Linked DNA regions of Homo sapiens: all the other regions are linked to region 1. The links are contacts of gene promoters, found by promoter capture Hi-C in blood cells and fetal thymus (Javierre and others, 2016). All regions are on one chromosome and are shown on one strand. Each heading gives the region's core, a stretch centred on a gene start or on the middle of the fragment in contact. The rest is flanking DNA. Distances are from core to core; before and after follow the strand shown. Region 1 holds the start of BHLHE41 (basic helix-loop-helix family member e41). Region 2 holds the start of DNAI7 (dynein axonemal intermediate chain 7). Region 3 holds the start of FGFR1OP2 (FGFR1 oncogene partner 2).

Region 1 (4,510 bases), core at 1,180-3,679:
GCAGAAAGGATGGGGGGAGAGAGGAGCCTCAAAGAGATAACAGAAAAAAGCTTCATGTGTCATTTGCAGCTTTTTGTCCCTTTAAATTATGGGGTGCTGCAAGCTTATTTAACCCACCTTTGAGCCTCAAGGCTCCTGATCGTGTTCCTCCTATTTCAACTTGCATTTAATCTCTGCCCCAGACTTAGCTTCTAAGGTTTGCCCTGGTCAGATGTCTGCCTTGTGTTTTTAGCCCGACGAGGCCAAAATGCAATGATCTTGTCTTTATTTCATTTTCCCTAACCAGTCATCCTTTTCAAGTGAAATTTAGCTCTGGAGCAAATATTTACATCCCCTTTCTACTCCAAACATTCAGAAATCTAGAAGGGGACCTGGTGTTTTAATTTTTAAATTATTCACCTAACGGCATTCCCATTTTTAGTCAATTAAAAAGAGGTAAAAATGATACAGTACTGCAGGAATAGGTCGCTTTTAGGGCTCCAACGTGCCCTCCCCATCGAAGGGTCTTAATTACCTAACCTTTTGGAAATAGGAGAGAGGTCGGACCGAGATTTAAAATAAAGTCAGCATTTTAAAAATACTTTTTAAATTAAGAACCATCGTGATTAAATTGCCTGTTTGGTGCAAAATACGTTCCTCTATTTGAGGAAGTCGAGAGACCTTAAAAGGCCCTCTAAACAGATGAACTGAACGGACCGCGAGCGTCTCCTCACGCCGGGGTGATCCTGGGCCGCCGCCGCCGCCCGAGTCACGAAGCCAGACGCAGTGCGCGTCTCCGCCCAGGACTCCGGAGACTGCAGCAGCGCGAGCGGCCGCCGCGGCCCGGGCTGCTCCTGGAGTCGGGGAGGAGACGCGACTCCCGCAGACACGTGACCTCCTCCCAGCCGCCGCTTCCCGCGACCCAGATCCGTCCCCGGAACCCGTGCCCGGCGGGGCGGGCCGGGGGACACGTAGCGGGCGCCCCAGTCCCTGCTGCGCCCTGGTGCATGTACCTTTGGCGTTCTTCTCCCCTCGGTTCACTTATCACCGGCAATAATCAACGTTTCAGAGATCACCCCGGGGAGAATGTAAATATCCCTCTCTGTGCAGGAAAAACCTTGGTTTTTTTCTCTATGTCTTTATGTATATCTAGAGAAATATATATATAGCCTCCATCCCACCCCTGGGAGTCCCTCAGGACATGCCTTCCCCTGGGCTGGCAGGGCGGCGTGGGCAGTGCGCATCCCCGGGCACCTCCCGGTAACTCTCACTAGCAGTGAGTCATGCTCCCAGGGTGGCTCTGGGGAAAGGTAACCCGGCTCTTGCTGGCCTGTGATTCCCGGCGCCGAGCGCCGCGGCTGCAGGGCGAGCGCGCGCGCGCACGGGTTCCCCGAGCAGTGATGTGGCAGCAGCGGCAGGTCGGATCACGTTGCTGGCCCTGTGCTGGTACCCGTTTGAGACCGGATTAAGGAGGGAGGCTTTGGAGGTGCCAGCGGTAGTAAACGTGGGCTCTGCACACTCCGGGCGTCTCTTATCGCGCGGGGGGGCGGGGGGATGGGGAAAGCACGTAGCGTCACCGGAGGCTCAGAACGCGGCAGAGTTGAGCGGGCGGGTGATAAATGCTGCATAGCTTTTCTGTGGTAGCCCCTCTCGTGCCACCCCCTCTCGTGCCACCCCCTTCTCCCTTCCCAGCCCCCACTCAACCCCGGCTCGCTCCCCGCCGCGTTCCTCCAGGAGCACACGCGGCCCCAAACGTCGTCATCTGCTGCTGTGATTAGTGGCACCGCAATTCCGGCTGCTGCGGGGAAGTTTAGTTGGCCCAGGGACGCCGTGTCACCGAAAGACACTTGGATTGCGACATTCGGACCCAGTGACAACGTTTTCATGTATCTTAAATCCTTCAAGGAGCGGATTGCAAGTTGCTTCTTCTCGAGGCAACCTCTCCACCCAGCGCCAAGGAGTCCCTCCAGGCCACTGATCAGTGAGCAAACAAGTCTCCAAAATTTCCTTTGGGACTCAAGTTTACCCACCGCGAATTCTCTTTTCACTTCCTTTCTATGGTTCAAACCAACAGCACAATCGGTGGAAAAGCAAAAAGCCACGTTCACATTCCTGCACCGTAACAACGGACGAACCCAGGGAGTCGCATTTTGGAGCCAAGGAAGCTCAGGCTGCCCCGCACCCCTGCACCCCCACTCCCCCCTCCTCCTGCCGACTGCATCGCCTTTGGGAAGATGAATAGCTTGGCCGAAGTTGTTTTTCCTTTCCGGTGGCCCTGATCAGGTGTCCCCGCCCCCTCCTGCCGTTCGCCTTCTCTCGCCGCCTTCTCCCGACGCCCCCGCCCGGCCCGGCCCCTCCTCCCCCGCCCCCCTCCGGGCTGGACCGCGGATGGTACGTTCCGCACGTGAGCTGGGTGCTGGTCTGGCCGGCGACGCGCGTGCCCTGTGGCCAAACACTGCCTGGAGTGAGAGCAAACTACCAGCGCAGTGGGGCCGGCGCGAGTGTGCGTGTGTGTGCGTGTGTGTGTGCGAGCGCGGTGGAGGGGGGGGACCAACTGCTTCACACTTTCAACACTGCACTGAAGAGGGAGAGCGAGAGAGAGACTGGAGACGCACAGATCCCCCCAAGGTCTCCCAAGCCTACCGTCCCACAGATTATTGTACAGAGCCCCAAAAATCGAAACAGAGGAAACGAACAGCAGTTGAACATGGACGAAGGAATTCCTCATTTGCAAGAGAGACAGTTACTGGAACATAGAGATTTTATAGGGTAAGGTGCACGCACCCTTGCGAATATCTGTCTAGGCTTTGGTTTGATTTTTTTCTTCTCCAGAAAGTGGTATGGAGCTGGCGAGGGCAGAGCCCCTCCCCGAATGGGTGCCTGATGCTGATTTCTGTTTTGCAGACTGGACTATTCCTCTTTGTATATGTGTAAACCCAAAAGGAGCATGAAACGAGACGACACCAAGGTAAGTGTAAGTTCCCGATATTCCTCATAACCTGCATGGGTAGTTAATTAGAGCCATTGATTTCACAGTGAAGCTCTGCCCGCAAATATATTCCAGCCCCTGAGCTTCCCCAACTGTGAATTTTAAGTGGCTTGCTGGGTACTCTCAGGGGGATATTAAACATCATACCTGAATTTAAATTGCATTGCAGAACAGTCCAGAGGAAAGAGGTTTCTTGGGTGTAGTTTATCACATAGTATGTTTTATGGTGGGGGGGCGGGGGGGGCAGACGAGGGTAATATCCAATAAGTGAATGTTTCGCTTACTGTTTTCTCTTTTCCATGACTCTCATATATTAAGGATACCTACAAATTACCGCACAGATTAATAGAAAAGAAAAGAAGAGACCGAATTAATGAATGCATTGCTCAGCTGAAAGATTTACTGCCTGAACATCTGAAATTGACAGTAAGATGCACATTTTCATTCTTTGCTGCTCTCCAAGGGCGTGTTAATAGTCTGGTGCGACTCCCAGAAAATATAAGAATAAATGTAAATATAAGTTCCTGACTTAAAACTTGTGCTATACCGTACAGAGTTTCCCGCAAACTGGAGTAGGTGCTCCCAGCTGAAGGCAAGAAATCATTTATAACCTGTCTTGTGGAAAGCTCAAGAAGTAAAAGAACAGTACTTCTTTCAAAGTGTTTGCTTAAATTGCTGTGCTGAATGGACAGCCAATTAAGCCAAATGTGTGTTTTTAAGTAACCAAGTGCCCGTTTCTTTTTTGCACCACTGCAGACTCTGGGACATCTGGAGAAAGCTGTAGTCTTGGAATTAACTTTGAAACACTTAAAAGCTTTAACCGCCTTAACCGAGCAACAGCATCAGAAGATAATTGCTTTACAGAATGGTAAGTCAGTTCAGGGAGGCCAGCCTACCCTGATGAAGCGGGGCAGCCCACAGGGGAGCAGTGTCAGGACTCCCTCACCCGCACCCCATCTCTTTCCGTGGGCTCATGGGTTCCCTCTCATTTGTTAAATTGCTTATACTTTCCCTTCATTGGAACGAGCCCATTTCCCGAAGCATCCTAGAGGCTTTCAGCAGAACTCGGAGGAATCAGGATTTAAAGTGGCGGTTGCACCCGCTCCACTTTGGTTTTCAGCTGGGAGGAGAGCGCCCTCTCCCCGCTCCGCACCTCCGCCACCCCGCTTCTCTCGTCAACTGGTGGATTATATCACTTGAATACTGGGGAAAAACCGAGATCACTTTAGTCGATGCAGGGCCCACGTGATAAGCAGATGTTTTAACGTGGGTATGTTTCTTCTTGCCTCCACTCCTCCGTCCCCCACCCCCATCCCTTCCTCATCCTAGGGGAGCGATCTCTGAAATCGCCCATTCAGTCCGACTTGGATGCGTTCCACTCGGGATTTCAAACATGCGCCAAAGAAGTCTTGCAATACCTCTCCCGGTTTGAGAGCTGGACACCCAGGGAGCCGCGGTGTGTCCAGCTGATCAACCACTTGCACGCCGTGGCCACCCAGTTCTTGCCCACCCCGCAGCTGTTGACTCAACAGGTCCCTCTGA
Region 2 (4,510 bases), core at 1,477-3,976, 930 kb after region 1:
TAGATGAGGGTATTTAACCCACTATATTAACTACTTCATTCTTTAAACTTCCTTTTTTTTCTTTTGGCAGAGAGCCATTAGCAGCGTGAAATAATCTTACTAAGAATGATTCTTAGGCTGGGCATGGTGGCTTGTACCTGTAATCTCAGCACTTTGGGAGGCCAGGGCTGGAGGATGGCTTGAGCTCAGGAGTTTGAGACCAGCCTGGGCAACATAGTGAGTGAGACCTTGTCTCTACTAAAAGTAAAAAAATATTAGCCAGGCATGGTGGCGTGTGCCTGTAGTCTCAGCTATTTGAGAGGCTGAGGTGGGAGGATCGCTTGAGCCCAGGAGGTTGAGGCTGTAGTGAGCCGTGATTGTTCCACCACTCCAACCTGGGCAAAATTCATTTTGAGACCCTGTCTCAAAACAAAACAAACAAAAAACACCTCTTCGGAACCATGTTCTTTTCACATAATTTAAAATTAAATATACATAGATGTAATTTCGAATTGCAAACTATAACCTGTTTAATGCCTAACAGCACAGCTTCATTTAATTCACAATTTGTAACTTGTGAAAGCTTTCAGGGACCTGGCTTAAGTTGTCCTTTTTAGTTGTTGGTCTTTTTACAAATTATGTATCATAAAACACTTGCCCAGCAAAAATGTAACTAGTGTGGCTATGGCAAATTTGTTCTTCTTTGATATGTTAACTTATATGAATTAATGCAGTTTATCTTTTTTTTTTTTTGAGACGGAGTCTTGCTCTGTTGACCCGGCTGGAGTGTAGTGGTGCGATCTTGGCTCACTGCAACCTCCCTCTCCCGGGTTCAAGCGATTCCCGTCTCAGCCTCCAGAGCAGCTGGGATTACAGGTGCTGATCACCACGCCCGGCTAATTTTTTGTATTATTTTAGTAGAGACGGGGTTTCACTGTGTTATCCAGGATGGTCTCCATCTCCAGACCTCGTGATCCACCCACTTTGGCCTCTCAAAATGCTGGGATTACAGGCGTGAGCCACCACACCAGGCAATGCAGTTTATCTTTATGCAGTTGACCTTGAAGCATTTAGGTTTACTTTAGCCACTAAGAGAAATAGGTCTCCTTGGGTTCACAATGTAGTGAATAAACAATTTTGAGTTCAGCAGGGCCCTGAGGCTGCTCCTGAACTCTGCATGAAGTCATGGAGGTTACTGTTTTAAGTAAAGAGCCAAGAGTTAAGGACTAAGAGAAGCCCCCTATTATTCTGAAAACTTGGATGTGTGCGCTGGATGAGACAGCGGTTGCAGTCCCCATTGATAGTTTTTTCCCCCTGTCATTCTAGGCTAAGGAGTTAGGACTTAACCAGTTCCAGTTCCAGGCTAATGGAAAATTGTCATTTTACTGGGGGTTATGTGGTGGCCAAAGTTGTTAATCATTGTTCCCCATGGGGTAGATACAGTGAGAGCTTCAGTAAAGCCTTTCCTCTAAAAGCCCACTATTTTAAGGTAACTTGGGATTACTGAACTATCTCCTTACCCCGATGAATCCTAACTTGAGTTGACTGAGGTGTTTTATCATTAAACATTAGTTTTACTGAAACTAATTTAAAAGGAAGCCTTAACTTTCATATCAAACAGCTATGGTAAACTGAGTAAGAACTCTGTACGAAGTCGCTATTAAAATGTTTTTATCTTGCTACCAGGATATGGATGTAAAATGCTAATAACTATTACACAACCTATAATAGTTACAGGTTACAATAGGGATAATAACACTTTAACCCACAAAGACTAGCTTAGTCCTACTACTTATCTATGAATAATGCATGTAGTCAATAACACTGGAAGGGATAGAGCATTATAAACTTATAATTCAGAGATGAGAAATGGTGCCAGTAATTTAAAAGTATTTCAGGTCTCATAATGCTAAAACAGGGTGTAGGTATGCCCTACAATTACAGAGAACTCAGTCGGGCTTGAGGAGAACAGCCTCACTTAATTGTAGTTTTCCTGTCGGTGTAAGGTGCCGGCGTTTCTTCATGTGGGAGGAGACTGAAATTCTAAAGGTTGTGTGGTTAGTAAAATTAGTCTGTGACCTCGGGAAACTAATGAGTCTTTGGGGCCTCAGCGATCTTCATGTTAAGGAATATTTTAGCCAGGAATTGCTTCATTTTCAATTCTTGTTTAGGGCGCTCTTAGGAAAAAGGACGCGTACGCTGCACAGAAAGTAAACAATAGAGCAGAAAGAAGAATCCGAAGGTCATTAATCTTAAAATAACCAACCCTCTGGAGCCAACTTATTTCTCTCTTTAAATTGCGGAATGAGCCCCATCCCCCTGCTGGATTAAACCGCAGAGGCCCAGGCCTCCCACCGGGTGTCCGCTGCATGAACCAGTCGCATGCCTGTTTCCTTCTCGAAACCCTCACAGAAAGACCCAACACACTCTAGGAAATAAACCGTCAACGTCAGGAGACGCTCAGAACCCTCTTCCCACACCCGGTGGTCCTCGCCCAGAGCATATTTCGCCTCCAGACCCCAGGATCCGGGAAATGGAACAAAACTCCCCGGCGGCGGCACTCACGCACTTTCCGGCACGCCGGAGCCGCAAAAGCCTCGACCGCTACGACTCCTCTGTCCGTCTACTGCGAAGCGGGGTGGCGTTGGGGGAGGTGGGCAACCTGTCAGTAAAGGGGGCGGGGCGCCGGCCGGAAGAGCCTCCGCGCGGCTGCGCTCTTTTCCTGGAGCTCAAGTGGGCGGGGCCTGTCGTCCGGGCAACCCGGGAGCGTTTGTCCACACAATTTCTGCTCCGACTCTGCGGACTACTGCAGTGGAGCTTGACTCTTAATGGTGAGCAAGGCAAATGAGGCAGACAGGTGGAGGGGCGACCACTGATTCTGCTTCACCAGTGTTAAATAATGTAATCAAGAGCCAGTCATATTTTACAGCGAAGCGGGTCGGTTTGGGAAATAACTCATACCTTGGGGTGGGTCGGCCCTCTTCTCAGCAATGGCTTTCCTTACCTGGACCAGGCGGACAGGTAGGAGTCCCAAACCAGTTTCTGCAAACGGGAGATGGTCAAAGCTGTCACACGGTATCCTGATCTCGAATGTTGCTAAGCTTGAAAATTGGTCCCAACCTAGTAACTTTCAGTAGTGATAGACGTTCCCACTAAATTTTCTTATTGCAACTTGGCGGAAATGTTTTAGTACTTCTCCAGCAGTTAATTAAAAGCTAATGCAATTTACTCTGCTTTGAAAAAATATTTTATGTCGTCTTTTGTGGGAATATGAATTGTTTTGTGATTCAAGGTTCTCATCCTGCATTAGTTAAATATGATAAGGCTTCTCATTTTGTTTTTCTGCACTCCTCAACTGCCATGTTTTCAGCAAGGAGACAGGCCAACATGTAGCTATGAGAGTATCTCTGATTTTCTTAAATGTGGTTTCCATCAAGACATTTTCTATAATTAAAACCAGAGGAAGTGGAGAATGTAATTACTTATTTAATTCATTAATTAAGGGAAAAATGTGGAGTGCATTCTTTGTACTTGGCACTGGGCTAGAAGCCAAGAATACCAAGAAGAACATGACGACAACTCTGCTTATAGGATACAGATTAAACAAATTAATTACAATACAGCTTTACAACTGTAACAATTGAAGCATCTAAAATGGGGTAACACACAGTTGGAAATGATGAAATTTCAGTGAGGGGAAACAAGGGAAGGAGAGTGGTGCTTTTCAACCTGTTTTAAAGTATAAATACGAGTTTTCCACATATGGTGGGAAGAAATAGGGAGTGGAGGCCTGGCGCGGTGGCTCACCCCTGTAATCCCAGCACTTTGGGAGGCCGAGGCGGGCAGATCACGATGTCAGGAGTTCGAGACCAGCCTGGTCAACATGGTGAAACCCAGTCTCTACTAAAAATACAAAAATTAGCCGGGCGTGTTGGCGCGCACCTGTAATTCCAGCTACTCAGGGGGCTGAAGCAAGAGAATCGCTTGAACCTGGGAGGCGGAGGTTGCAGTGAGCCGAGATTGTGCCACTGCACTCCAGCCTGGGTGACAGAGCGAGACTCCGTCTCAAAAAAAAAAGAGAAAAAAAGAAATAGGGAGTGGAGAGCATTCCTGGCGGAATGCAAATGGACCTTAAGTCAATTTATAATTGCTAATAAATTGGGGGAACAGTAAGCACTTACTTGTTACCTTCCAATTTGTTACCTGAGTTTCTTCTTCTTCTTAGATCCTTCTCCCAATGTTTCTCAAAGTGTGGCCCATGGAACATTTATTTCTAATGCACCCGGAGTACTTGTTAAAAATGCAGATTCCAGGAACCCACTCAACTCCAAATCTACTGTATTAGTTTCCTAAGTCTGCCAAGTAAGGAATTGCCACAAACTGAGTGGTTAAAGAAAAGAAATTTATTGTCTCGTAGTTCTGGAGACTAGAAGTCCAAGATCAAAGTGTCAGCAGGTCTGTGATACCTCTGAGGGCCTTAGGGAGAGATCTGTTCAGACCTTTCCTGGCTTCTAGTAGTTTCTTGGTTTGT
Region 3 (4,510 bases), core at 784-3,283, 810 kb before region 1:
TGAATGCAAGAAAGAACGCATATAAATTACATATAAAAATAAGCATTTATAAAGGCACATCGCTGTATGTGAAAGCAAAGAAAATTTTCACTGTCCTTGAAAATAGTGGAATGAATACATGTTTGGAACTGTATAAAGACACTTTCTGAAGAAAATTAATTTTTAAACTTGGAAGAAAGATTTTGGAAGTAATGACACTGGAGGATTTTTTTAAAATTACACGTTCCCTTAGAATTGTGGCTGAATATAAGTTTCACATACATATGTTCAAAGAGTTGTGACAGTTCAAGAAGGAACTAACCTAATCTAAACCAGTTATTTCTAACCTACAGGCTAAGGAGTCAGTAGAAGAGTTGCCTGAATGCACATACTCCAAGCACTGTCTGTAGTCTAAAACATTTCTGCTCCATTTCTCAAATATAAATAGATACTGTAAAAATAAAATACAAAATCATTTAAAAGCATAGTAGTTTTCTGTCATTATACATAATTTCAACCAACAATTACTAAAAGTCCAATTGCATGTGTATTAGAAGTACAGGGTTTCTCATAATCAAAATAGGTCGGGACCTTTAAGCTAATGTACAGAGTTCCTTCTGGCCCAAAATTCTATGATTTTAAAGGATGAAGAACTCTTACGGTGAATTCCTTAGAACTATTCCATTTCAATAAACATACATATGTATATATAAATAATGCTTGCTATGTGCCAAGTACTGGACTTTTTCTCAGAGATGAGTAAGACATGATTCCAGACAGACCCAGGTTCAAATTGGCAGGAGAGACAGAAACAAATAATACAACCTAATAAATACTGCAGAAGAAAAGTTTCAAATGCGTTGGGAGCACAGCGGTATCAATGTCACCTGGGGGAGTCTGAGAAGACAATGATTTATGAATTGGGTTTTGACAGGTGGTAAAATAGAGGAACAGTAAACATCCTAGACATCCGCACGTACAAAAGTACAGAGCTGTCAAAGCGCATGGCATGTTTGGGGAAATAGCCAGTATAGTCTTGTATGGTAGGATATTAAAGCAGGACTAAAAGGTAAAATGGATTGGGGCAGACTGTAAAAGATCCTGAATGATGATGTGCTTAACAATTAGGATTTGATGCTGTCAGCAATACGGTTACTAAAAAGTTTAAGGAAAGGACAGAGATAAATATGTATTTCAGAATAACTCTATGGAAGGATTATAGTAGGGAAACCAGTGGAGGGCGGGGGGCAGAGGGGGCAACCGCACTAATTCTGGCGAAAAAAAAAATAATACAGTGCAGTGTTAAGTGGAAATGAAGAACCAATGATGATTCCTGGTTTTCTAGTTCGGATAGCAGGACAGATACTGGAACCATTATCAGAGATGGGATAGAGAAGAAAGGCAGGAAGAGAACCAGAAAAGAGTAATACCCCTTGGAGAGCAGTTTCAAGAAACAAGTTATCTTCATTAAACGCTGCAAACAGGTGACTGAAAGGGTCCCCCGTCCGGTGGTGAACTCGCAGGTGGGTAAGGCAGGATGAAAGCAGATACGGAAGGTGTGTCCACAGGGTTAGAGCCAAGGCTTTTCATTGAACTTTCCGCACCGCATCTCCATTAAGAGGAGCTCGGAGTCGGGGGGCGCGGAGAGGAAGTCCGGCTCCCAGGAGCAGGGAGCCCGCGGCGGGAAGCGGACAGGGCCGGGCGCCGGTGGTTCAAGAGGCGCAAGGCACCGGCCCCGGCGAAGGACTGCCCCGGCAAAGGACGCCTCCGACTCGCCCACCCCTGCTCCCGTCCCTGGATTTAGTCCACTTACTCTGCTCTTAGTCCCTCGCAGCCTTCAGCTGTGGCGATGCGGACTCAAACCCTCTACCAACCGGGACCTATGCACTCAAGGGAAGAGACTCCGCGCCCCCCTAATCCGCCTCCTCAGCAAGCAGACGCAGAATCGGACGGAGGCAGCGGACGGAAGGCCGGGAAGCCAGTGGCGTTCAACGCCATCACCGGCGGGGTAGACACCTCCGCCGACCGCCTCCGACCGGCGCTCCCGGAGAACTCCAGCCTCGCGAGATTTCTTTCCTCGCGTTACTGTGGGGCAGAACCGACCACTCTCCGCTTTGCCCCAGAAGGCAGGGCGGGGCCCTTCTATGTCCCTCCCTATTCCTCCCTTCCCAGGCTTTCGCTCGGCCTCTCGCAAAGTCTCGCGAGTTTTTCCAGGGGAAACCGGCCTGGGTGGAGAGACAGAGAAGGGGAGACCGGGTGGGTGGGTCGTACGCTTAGGGGGCCGTGGTTGGTACTTCGCTGTTGGGGAGGCTTTCAGGTCGCCCAGATCCTGCTTCCCAATGGGTGACTGGGAAAATTAGCGGGTGGAAAATCTCGAGGGGTGGAGGCTTTTTTTTTCCTCCTTGGCCCCGCCCTCTTCCTGTTCGGCGACTGGGACGCCTGGCCCTACGAGGGGGAAGGGAGGCTTGGCCGGGCTATCGGAGAGCGCTGTGCGCACGCGCGAGCCCGAGTGCGTGTGTGTGTGTGCACGCGCACGCGCGCTCCTGCTCTTAGGAAGCCTGGGAAGGACCGGTGTGCTAGGAGATGATCGGGGAAAGCATAGTCCCCTGTCTGTGGCACCAGACACTCCCGACTGTGCGCTGACTCTCCCCGCCCAGCCAGCAGCCTTTTCCAGAGAGGCTGTGGTCCATAGCCTCTGTTCGTTTTCACTGCAGGACCAGGCACGAAAGTAAGCGAACCTCGATCCTGAGGTCTTCCCTATCCACTCACCTTGTATTTTCCACCCCCCACCCTCCAGCAAAGTGGGTCTAGAAGGTTTCTCAAAGAGAGTTTTGCATGAAGGGGAGATGCGTCTTGAAAGCAAGAGGTGAAAATAGCTGGATCGTAAGAAATCAGTTCGTTTTGATTTAACACTTTGGCTTTGCTTGCCATGTGCTTTTCGAATGTGGATTGTCTATTCAGTATAAGATTTTGTTAGCGAAGCAGGGGAGTACCGTATGCTCTGTTTTAATAAGAAAAAGTTTTAAAAGTTTTAAATTTCCTTCTACACACCAGTGTGATGGTAACAACTAAGTTTTTCTGCTCTACCTGGTAAATTACTGTGATGTTTCAAAAGCTAAGGGGAGAGTGTGAAGTTGGGGTCCTTATCCTAAGGCGAAGACCTGATGTGCGGTTATCTTAGGAGATGTTTATCTTTGTTTTGGCCTTTTCTTTTGCTGTCACTCCTCTTTCCTGTTAATTCCGCACCCCTACCCGCCAGTCCCCCTTCAAACGTTTTTCTTGGAGGGAAGTGCAAAAATGCTGGCTTGGGGTTTATATGTGACTAATGTCAATTAGCAAGGATCATAAAGTTGTATTTCAAGAGTCTTTGTCACTTATGTTTCGTATATGTAAGGGAATCAAATACAATTAAATGTCAAAATGTTTCCCTCTGACAATTTTAAGTTCATTTTAAAAGCAAAACCAAAAATGCATGCACTGGTATTTTTGTCTGGGCCTGGTAGAGTGACAGCCTAATATGGTGTATTGATACCCTTGCTTTCTGGTCATGACCTCATTAAACTGTCCTTTGTCGGACAGATTTCTTTGAACATATTATTCATGTTCCCTACCAAGTCTTCTTGAGGGAAAGACAATCTTCTTGAGAAAATTAGAAAAAATGTAAGATGTTATGTACAAATATTTGGCTAATATGTTTTTCCCCTTACAGGTTAAAACAAAATGAAGATTTTTTCTGAATCTCATAAAACAGTGTTTGTTGTGGATCACTGCCCTTATATGGCAGAATCTTGCAGGCAGCATGTCGAGTTTGATATGCTGGTGAAGAATAGAACCCAAGGAATCATTCCTTTGGCCCCCATATCTAAATCATTGTGGACTTGCTCAGTAGAATCTTCCATGGAATATTGTAGAATAATGTATGATATATTTCCTTTCAAAAAGCTGGTGAGTGTGAAGTACAAACAAAATCATGATTTTGGGGATGTACTTAACTGCATAAATGAATTTTTATATGAATTTGCTATAGATAATGACTGTGTGTTTATTACTTAAAAATGTGGTACATAACGCTGCCCTTTGGGATTAATATATAATGGATATTTAATTGGGGCCAGTAATAATAACAGCTAACAATTATTGAGCACTTTACATGTGCCAGACATATTTCAAAGTGCTTCATATTTATTAATTTCCGTAATTCTCATAACAGTCATGTTAGGTAGGAACTGTAGTTATTGAAGCAATATTCAAAGTATGTAACAACCAGTATAGAACACAGACTGACCATTGAGAGCTGCTGTCAAACTGTGCTGGCATGTAGCAGCTGACTGTCAGTCTTGTTTGTTGCTTCCCTGTTGCAGATCCGGAAACTGAGGTAAAGAGAAGAAACTTGTCCTGAGTCACATAGTTACGTAGAGGCAGAGCCAGAATTTGAACCTAAGCTGGCTAGCTGCTTGCAATTTTAGCAAATATATACTAAACTGCTGTATTGTTTGGCCATATTAGAAAGAAATACTTTTAAGAATGCTAA

What was found. Contacts are between HindIII fragments. The CHiCAGO score rates a contact against its expected background, and 5 or more counts as called.
Region 2: the fragment with the promoter of DNAI7 here is called in contact with the fragment with the promoter of BHLHE41 in region 1 in 4 of 17 cell types (total CD8 T cells, naive CD4 T cells, fetal thymus and 1 more); the score reaches 6.4 in total CD8 T cells.
Region 3: the fragment with the promoter of FGFR1OP2 here is called in contact with the fragment with the promoter of BHLHE41 in region 1 in 5 of 17 cell types (fetal thymus, monocytes, total CD4 T cells and 2 more); the score reaches 7.2 in fetal thymus.

The regions. Positions count from the first base shown.
Region 1 is chr12:26,122,956-26,127,465 of GRCh38, reverse strand. BHLHE41 (basic helix-loop-helix family member e41) reads left to right here and starts at 2,429. Exons shown (of 5, transcript NM_030762.3): 1 at 2,429-2,748; 2 at 2,884-2,947; 3 at 3,287-3,394; 4 at 3,725-3,836; 5 at 4,298-4,510. The coding sequence starts at 2,687. It also overlaps a transcript of SSPN not described here. RefSeq lists a silencer at 848-1,017. The HindIII fragment of the contact is 3,679 bases long and covers 106-3,784 here.
Region 2 is chr12:25,193,376-25,197,885 of GRCh38, reverse strand. It overlaps DNAI7 (dynein axonemal intermediate chain 7), which reads left to right and starts at 2,726. Exons shown (of 16, transcript NM_018272.5): 1 at 2,726-2,810. The coding sequence starts at 2,808. ETFRF1 (electron transfer flavoprotein regulatory factor 1) reads right to left here and starts at 2,649. Exons shown (of 3, transcript NM_001001660.3): 1 at 2,549-2,649. RefSeq lists an enhancer at 2,289-2,408. The HindIII fragment of the contact is 2,518 bases long and covers 565-3,082 here.
Region 3 is chr12:26,935,993-26,940,502 of GRCh38, reverse strand. It overlaps FGFR1OP2 (FGFR1 oncogene partner 2), which reads right to left and starts at 2,033. Exons shown (of 7, transcript NM_015633.3): 1 at 1,793-2,033. It overlaps INTS13 (integrator complex subunit 13), which reads left to right and starts at 2,522. Exons shown (of 17, transcript NM_018164.3): 1 at 2,522-2,707; 2 at 3,689-3,924. The coding sequence starts at 3,700. RefSeq lists a silencer at 1,600-1,669 and enhancers at 1,199-1,707, 1,930-1,979, 1,708-2,217. The HindIII fragment of the contact is 20,390 bases long and covers 1-4,510 here.